Linked DNA regions of Homo sapiens: all the other regions are linked to region 2. The links are contacts of gene promoters, found by promoter capture Hi-C in blood cells and fetal thymus (Javierre and others, 2016). All regions are on one chromosome and are shown on one strand. Each heading gives the region's core, a stretch centred on a gene start or on the middle of the fragment in contact. The rest is flanking DNA. Distances are from core to core; before and after follow the strand shown.

What was found. Contacts are between HindIII fragments. The CHiCAGO score rates a contact against its expected background, and 5 or more counts as called.
Region 1: a fragment that was not itself captured here is called in contact with the fragment with the promoter of LRRK1 in region 2 in 5 of 17 cell types (M0 macrophages, monocytes, total B cells and 2 more); the score reaches 6.5 in M0 macrophages.
Region 3: a fragment that was not itself captured here is called in contact with the fragment with the promoter of LRRK1 in region 2 in 2 of 17 cell types (naive B cells and total B cells); the score reaches 9.0 in naive B cells.

The regions. Positions count from the first base shown.
Region 1 is chr15:101,649,598-101,652,297 of GRCh38, reverse strand. It overlaps TM2D3 (TM2 domain containing 3), which reads left to right. Exons shown (of 6, transcript NM_078474.3): 1 at 1-27; 2 at 525-602; 3 at 2,137-2,294. Among named protein-coding and RNA genes, the nearest start is that of TM2D3, 1.4 kb to the left of the region's middle. RefSeq lists a silencer at 1-329. The HindIII fragment of the contact is 1,735 bases long and covers 383-2,117 here.
Region 2 is chr15:100,917,952-100,920,651 of GRCh38, reverse strand. It overlaps LRRK1 (leucine rich repeat kinase 1), which reads right to left and starts at 1,295. Exons shown (of 34, transcript NM_024652.6): 1 at 1,201-1,295. It overlaps ALDH1A3-AS1 (ALDH1A3 antisense RNA 1), which reads left to right and starts at 1,369. Exons shown (of 2, transcript NR_135827.1): 1 at 1,369-1,848. RefSeq lists enhancers at 253-844, 2,019-2,138, 2,189-2,278, 2,031-2,623 and silencers at 1,059-1,648, 2,409-2,628. The HindIII fragment of the contact is 4,524 bases long and covers 1-2,700 here.
Region 3 is chr15:99,929,369-99,932,068 of GRCh38, reverse strand. No RefSeq gene overlaps it. Among named protein-coding and RNA genes, the nearest start is that of LYSMD4, 200 kb to the right of the region's middle. The HindIII fragment of the contact is 9,202 bases long and covers 1-2,700 here.

The sequences.
Region 1 (2,700 bases), core at 1-2,500, 730 kb before region 2:
CGCAGTTCTGCATTCTGTCGGGCGGTGGTGAGTCAAAGGCTGGGTTCAGCGCCGGGTGGGGCTGAGTGGCAGCAGGGCCCCGGGAGCTGCGAGGAGGCCGGGCCCACGGGCGGACGCTGACGCGGGGAGGAGGCCGAGTGCCGGGCTCCGGGCCGCTTGTCGCTGCATCTGGAGTCTGGCGCCCTGGCCGCCCGGCCCGAGGCCGCCCCTCCGCTCCGGCGACACCGAGCCCGCCATCGCGGCTGCGGAGCCCTGGCACGGAGATGGAGCGCTTGGGGGCTGGGCCGGGGAGGCGGAACTGGAGCGCGATGTCATCCTTCGGTCCCTCGTTGCCGGCTGACCTGAACTGATGTCTACTCTGTTGACGTTTCGTCCCTAAGCTTTGTGTTTTCTGGCTGACCAGCCGTGAGGTTTTCATGAGCAGCTTATTGGCCTGGTGTAGACCCGCCGTGTTAACCACACAAAATAAGGTTTTCTTGTCCCGGGATAACGTGTTTCTCTAATTGTACGATCCTTAAATTTAGAGCAATCGCAGGCGCTGGCTCAGTCAATAAAGGATCCGGGCCCAACACGCACATTCACAGTAGTTCCCAGGGCAGCAGGTACTAGACGTTTTCTATTCTAGTAAATACATGTAGTTATCTCTAGTAGTTTCTCTTTGTTTTTATAAAAATTCCCTTTAGTATACGAAGTCACTTTCCATTTTTGAATATTTATTGTATTTTAGATTATGTGAATTAAGGGTAGATACACAGCCATTTTCAGTAGATAGTCTTCGTATTTATACCTTTTGACGTTTCTGCCTCCTCTCTTTTTCCAATCCCACGCTCATTTGTCACCTTATTTCTATTATTTTTCCACTTCATCCATCAAAATAACCTTCAGTCCGTGCTTCTTTCCCTTCAGCAAATTTCCTCTACTGCTAAAACCCTGTTCCTGATGTTGGAATATTAAAGGCTCCCTCAGGACTGTGGAAATGGAAGGATTACAGCGGGACTGATGGAGACTTGAAATCTAGATCTGGTTTTGCTACTGGGATCTTGAACAAATTATTTATCCTCTTTGGACCTTGGTCCTCATCTTTAAAGCGGTGGGGTTGGTCTGACGACCTAAAGTCATTTCTGCTTTGTGATTCTAAGTGTCCACCTTCCAGCCACATAGTCACGGGATCAAAAAGAGTATTTTGTAGAATTGTTCCTTAATACAGTGAGTAAAGTAGGACCAGTTTTAAACAAGCATTAGTGTGTTTTGCTAGGTGGAGGCTCTGACTATAATTTCATCACTTTAAAGTGACATTACTTCAGTGAATTGAAACTGGCAGAGATATTTTACTGATTCTTATTTGGATGTAAAAAACAGCAGTGCACTTGAATTTTAAACTCAGATTACTTTTTAGAGAAAGCACAAGAGTTCTTAACTCTTGCAGGCTTTTGAAAGCCCTTCTTTTCAGGAATACTTGCAATTTTGATCCTTTCAGTTGGTAAAAATACATTGCACACTCATTAGGTTGGTTGGAAATAAGTTGCAGCTTACTGAAGATGTTATTAAAGTAGAGAACTGTTTTGAACTTTGGTAGCGTAAAACTGTAAATATTATATTAGCAAATGTGGCTTATCGAAGTACCAGTGTGAAATAATGACATTTTAAAGTTGATGCCCTGAGGATGTCAGTGGCTTCATTTCTGAATTAGTGAATTCAGATGAAAAGAACACGGGATTGGAAATGGAGAGATTTGGGTTCTAGTTCCAGTTTTGCCACAGACTTCCTCTGTGATTTTGCAAAACCCTACTGTAAGTTTTTTTTCAACTTACAAAATGATAGTCTTTTTTTTAAGCCCTTAATGTATACCCAGAATTTTCTATACATTATTTGTATATGAGCACCTTTAGTTTTCACGGCCACGTGGGAGGCAGGAATGAAGTAATGTTTTACAAGTGTGGTGCTCACCAGGTCCCACAGCTGGCCGTGGGCAGAATTCTGCTTTAATTGCAGGTGTCTCTGACTCCAGTCCCATGCTTCTTCCCTTCCAGTGCAGTGTCTACTTGCTAATGATCACGTCTCTTAACCTTAGAAGATTGTTCTCTGTTATTCGAATCAGTATTATAGGAGAATAAGCTTCTCTCTTGCCTCTCACAGAAAGTACTGAAATCCCACCTTATGTGATGAAGTGTCCGAGCAATGGTTTGTGTAGCAGGCTTCCTGCAGACTGTATAGACTGCACAACAAATTTCTCCTGTACCTATGGGAAGCCTGTCACTTTTGACTGTGCAGTGAAACCATCTGTTACCTGTGTTGTAAGTACTGCAGCTTACTTATTCTAAATAAATTCATTGTAAACTTTAAGTTAGAAGAACAATTCAGACTTGATTATTGGGAAGAAATTCTGAAGAATTTTTATATTCTTTTATGATTTCCCTTTTGAGTATGTAAGCAGAAATAAATTAAAAAACCCAATAGACCTTTCCATATCAGCTCACTACTGTTTTAGTTATAATGATAACTGTCAAGCCAGTTGATGTCTGCTGGAAATGCACTTGACAGAAATGTTGCTTTGTAGGACTGGAGAAGATCTCAGTCTACTAGCATATCTGAAGCAAGTCTAATTCGTTCAGATGGATTCTGTGTTCTCAATAGTGACAGCTAGTGTACAGAGGGGGTGGCAGTGTCTTTCTGCCATAGATGAGCTTTTGAAGGGCCAGT
Region 2 (2,700 bases), core at 46-2,545:
GGCATAAGAAAAAGGGGACAGATCAGGACACATTTTAGACATAGATTCAACAGACTGAATGTTTTTTATCTGAGGATCCGAGTTGACTGCGAGGTCACTGCCAGAGACATCGACTTTTGGGAGAGGGAAAGGTTTGGCTGACCGCAAAACCTCCTTTAGGAACAAATTAGGTGTGAGGTTAGTTTGTTATATTATTTTCTCTTTCAGGACATAGGCAAAGATGAAGAGAATCAAATCATAAAAGGCGTTTAATGTTAACATTTTCCAAAATTGTGCATGTTCTAGCTATCCCTTTAATGTCTGGGCATTTTGATACCCTGTGAGTGGCTGGCAAACTCTATCATTAGTGTACACGGTGAGAGGTTTGCTGAAAGCTATATGCCCCCGTTTCTCTACCTGTTGCAGGGGAAGTGTTCGTGGGAGAAAAACTTCGCGGCCTCATACTGTGAAGGGGTAGGTTGAGATGGCCACGGGGGTTCTCAGATTCTCCACCAGCGTCTCCTCGCTGACCCCGGCCTTCCTAGGCTTCCTTCCCGCGTCCCTGCCTGCCAGGAAGGTCCCCTGTAGCTTGCAGAGACCATGGTAGACAGAGCAGTTGTATCTGCGCCAGCCAGAGACCACCTGGGCAAGAAGCGTGACCCAGACATCGAGGAGGGTGAAGCCTCGCTGGGCCGCCCCGCAACCCCAGGAAGCCCCGGACCAGCGAGAGGCTCCCGGGCGGTCTCTTGCCGACACCCCGGCACGGGCTCACCCGCGCGCTCACACTCCGCCCGCTCCCCGCTAAGGGACTGGGTTCGCTCCAAAGGCAGAGGAAACCTATGGGCTCCCCGGCTCGTGTCTCCCGACTCGTGTCTCTTGCCTCCGCTTCCCAGCTTTCCCGACCCTGCCCGGACGGGGTTTCGGGGTTCCCTGCTCGGGCCCCGCGCGCTCCCCTCCCACAGGCTGGCTGGGCTCCGGGCGCGGCGGGAGGCAGCGGGGACGTGAGACCGGGGTCGCCCCACACGCCCTCCGCGCCCCTCGGGCCGCGGCCCCTGCGCAACGGCCCCCCGTGCCCGACCACGCGGCCGCCCGGAGCGCAGGGGCCCGCGGGCAGGCAGAGGCCGAGGCTCCCCGCGGGCGCCGGGCGCGGGCTCTGGGTTCCCCGGGCGGGGCCGGGAGGCAGCCAGGCCGCCGGGGGGCGCCGGCAGGAGCGGCGCTTACCTGAGGCGGCGGCGGGGCCGGGTGCGGGCGCTCCGGGACGCGGGGCCGGGCGGACACACTGGCGGGGCCGGGGCCTGGCCGTCCCACCGCCGTCTGCCCCCCGCGCCGGGGCCGGGCCCAGACGCACTTCCTCAATCCTGAGGCGGGCGGGCGGGGAGGGCGGCGCGAAGAGCGCGCAGAGCAAGGCCGCCGCCAGCTCTCCCAGGAACCGTCGCGAGGCGTCCCCTCGGCGGCCGCCTCAGTTTCCCTGGCCGTAAAACGCGGGCGATGGCGCTCGATGCCCCGGGAGACGCCGGGGTCCGCGGGCCCTTCCGGCACCGGGTCCTCCTTCAGGTTCGGGCACCCGGCTGCCTCCACGCGGGGCGAGCGCGGCGATGGGATCGGTCCGTGCTGCGCTCAGCCCCGCTTTCGCTATCCCTCTGCTCCAGGGGCAGCAAAATCAGCAGATGAGCCCCCAGCGCGCCTGCGGCCCACACACTGCGGCCGTAACAGTTAAACAGACGGGGAACATTCATGTGCGTAGAGCTCTTCACGGGGCGATACAGAAATGTGTCGTTCTAAAGCGTTAACGACCTGCAATTTGCATATCCTCCAACACATGGATTTTACTGATTCAATTATGGATGTGTGCAAAGAATCTGCTGCTCGGTGAGTCATTGTTAATTGTCGGCTTTGGGGGGAATACATAAAACGTGGAATATTGGCAATTTATCGTGTTTCGACCTTTTATAAAGGCGTCACCAGGCTGCTGAGGCTAATACAGAAACGCAGACCATAAAAAAGATCTGCGTCCACGCTGCAGGCGGGCCTCACGCTGAGCTCCCCGTGTCGACCCGGGGACAAAGCCTGCTCAGGAAGAGCAGAGGGTTCCACGCCCTGCAGGACCAGCGCCCTGGGCCCCTCTCCTGGAAAGTTATGACTCGCACGTTCCCAGGATTTAGCGCACATCTCCCCCACCCTCACTGCCATTTCACAGAACCGGGGCAGCCGCAGGGCTCCTGCAGGACCTCCCGGACGCCGCGGGGCCGTGTTCCCTTGAGCGGCTTCTTGGGTCCCTGGTTGGAGAGGGGACCACCGAGCAGCTTCGCTCTGCTCCTGGGAGGCTACTTCTGCCACTGGACGACTTTCCAAAAGGGTGAGCGCAGTTCTGCAATCCTGTTCTCACCCCTGAGGGCCTCACACCAGTTTGCAGGAGCCAGCAGTGTGATTGCCACCGACAAGTTCCCAACAATTTGCAGGGCGTGGTGTCCTCAGTGCTGAGAGAGCCCCGCGACGGCGGTGCAGCTCCTCCAGGGCGCGCAGCCCCGCCACCTGGCGCCACCGCGAGGGAGCGCAGGCCCAGGGCCCGGGCAGACGCTGGAGGGGACGCGGCAGGTGAAGATGGGGCACCTCCACTTCCCTTCTAAAGGAGCCTGGGAATAGGCTAGGAAATGTCCCCACTGTAGAAGACAGCAGGAACATCTGACACGCGGATAACCTGTGCTGAGCTCGTTATATTCC
Region 3 (2,700 bases), core at 60-2,559, 990 kb after region 2:
GAGCTTTGAGTCCTCGGGTTCCAAGAGGGGAGAAGATGGATGTGGCATGCGTGTCTAGGGCCCAGGCTGAAGGCCCTGAACGGCAGAGGAGACCGGGGCTACGGGGTCACGTCATGGAGCAGAAGGCCTGTGCACCAGAACGCACCATGAGGCCACCATCTGGGGGTCCACAGGGGCAGCTGAACCTCATCATGCCTAGGGTTTCTGGTCACCTCCTACCTATGCAGAGCTGTGGACAATAAGCTGGACCAGCAGTTACCACCCGAAAAGCAAGAGGAGAGCTCACCACAGTCATGCCTTGCCAGCCCCTCTTCCTGACCCCAACATTAGAACAGCAAGTGCCAAGAAGCAGGAGAGTCATGTGCAACTGCCCCTACCCCACTCTCCATCTATGGAAACACTAGGTTTAGCCTGCACTAGGTGGAGAAGGGAAGAGAGATTGACGTTTCAAAATGAGCTATCAGGGGACTTCTATTTACAGCAATATGAGAAACTAGGTAACCTGAAAGGCAACACCCACCGCAATATGCTCAGAATTGCTTGGTGCAATAGAACAGACTCTAAATGCAGAGTTCAACAGAAAGTAAAGGCCAAAAGATGAACTGGGAACCAACAATTAGGTATACAACTTCATGATCTCCCCACCCACCAGGGCTGGCATCCTCTCACTAACTCAGGGGCTTGGATTGTTTTGTTTTGCTTTTCGAGACAGAGTCTCACTCTGCCACCCAGGTTGGAGTGCAGTGGCACAATCTCAGCTCACTGCAACCTCCACCTCCCGGGTTCAAGTGATTCTCATGCTTCAGCCTCCCGAGTAGCTGGGATTACAGATGTGCATCACTATGCCTGGCTAGTTTTTATATTTATTTTTAGTAGAAATGGGGTTTTGCCATGTTGACCAGGCTGGTCTTGAACTCCTGGCCTCATGTGATCCACCCAACTTGGCCTCCCAAAGTGCCAGGATTACAGGCGTGTGCCACCATCCCTGGCCTAGGGACTTGGGTTTTAATGCTGTGAGGAATTGGAGAGGAAGCCTTGGACCTGCCCCACAACACTCATAAATGAGGGGTCCTTCAAGGGCAGGATGCACTCTCAGTAATCATCATCTAGAGAAAGTTCCCCCACTGGCAGTTATGTCAGGGATATTAGACCTGGCCTGGGCTCTGAGTAGGGAAAATGATTCTCCTATCAATTTGTCATCACAGGCCCATACTCATGTGATGGGATTAGGCTGTATATGACATGCATGGGCCAGAAAATCCCCAGGTCAAAACATTGGTATGCAAAGCAGTCCTGGGCTGGTGATAACGCCAAGCACCTGGCTGAAGCAAACCCAAAAGCACTCTGGAGGCACCCACTCTCATGTAAGGTACAGAAGATTCCAATAGATGAAGTCCCCATTAAGACCAGCTCACAATCCCAAATTACAAAACACTGGCAACTCCAAGTCAATAAACTTCAGGGATGGAAAGCCAGTAGAATGATCAAAACAGAGCCTACAAGATAAATTGGCTTAAAATTACTAAAGACCTAAAATGAGAAATAAAAACAGAAAAAAAGAATCAAGATACATGAAAAAATAGGTAAATTTTAAAAAGTATTTCCAGAAAGTAAAATTTTAAAAATATAATTACTGAAATAATAGAAATACCTCTGCAGATGGGTTACCGCTGATTCTCAAAGTTTATCACACCTGAGGATCCCCTGGAGGGCTTCTTAAACACAGACTGCAGGGCCACCTCCAGAGTTTCTGGGGCAGGGCCTGAGAATTTGCATTTATAAGAAGTACCCAGGTGAAGCTGCACTGATGATCTGGGGACAACGGGTTAGCTGATTAACTCTGGCCAAAGACAAAATTCTGACTGACCAAAAGTAGTTGACAAGTTAGTGAATAAAGTTGGGTTATTTTAATAGGTCTTCTATCCAGGGGAAAGGAGTTTCAATCAGCACACAGTTGAAAGCAGTAACTGAGAAAAATAAAACCATGTCCACGTGCATGTTTCAAATACACTGTCAGGATTTTCAATAGTCTAAGTAGTCTGTATCTTGTCCAAGGTTACAAGAGACAAAGAACATTATATATTGAGAAGAGATTCAATACAGCAAGAATAAGTAGTTATAAACATTTAGCACTTAACAGAATATGCAAAGCAGAAAGGGAGCGAATTGGAGGGAAAAGTAGTTCTACAATAATCGTCGGAGACCTCAGTCCCCCACTTTCAATAATGGAAAGAACAACCAGACAGAAGATAAGAAAGGAAATGAGAGGACTTGAACAACACAGCAAGCCAAGTGGACCTAACACACACCACCAGGCCCCCAGTGCATTTCAGCTGAGGCCTCTGGACACGAGGCCCACGACAGGTGTCTTAGTGGGCCCACGACTGCTGTGACAAATTACCACAAACTTGCTGGCTTCCAACAACACACGTTTATGATCTTACAGTCCTGGAGGTCGAAAGAGTAAAAAGAGGTCTCACTGAGCTGAAATGAAGCTGCTGGCAGGGCTGCGTTTCTTTCCGGAGGTTCGTTGGGAGAACCTAGTCCCTTACCTTTTCCAGCTGCTAGGCAGAGGCCGCCCTGTTCCGTGGCCCGTCCTCCATCCCCAAAGCCAGAAAAACCGGGCTGAGACCTCCTGGTGCTGTCGGCCTTCTCTGTTCTCTGTTCTCTCTCTTTCTTTCTCTCGCCTCTCTTCCTTAT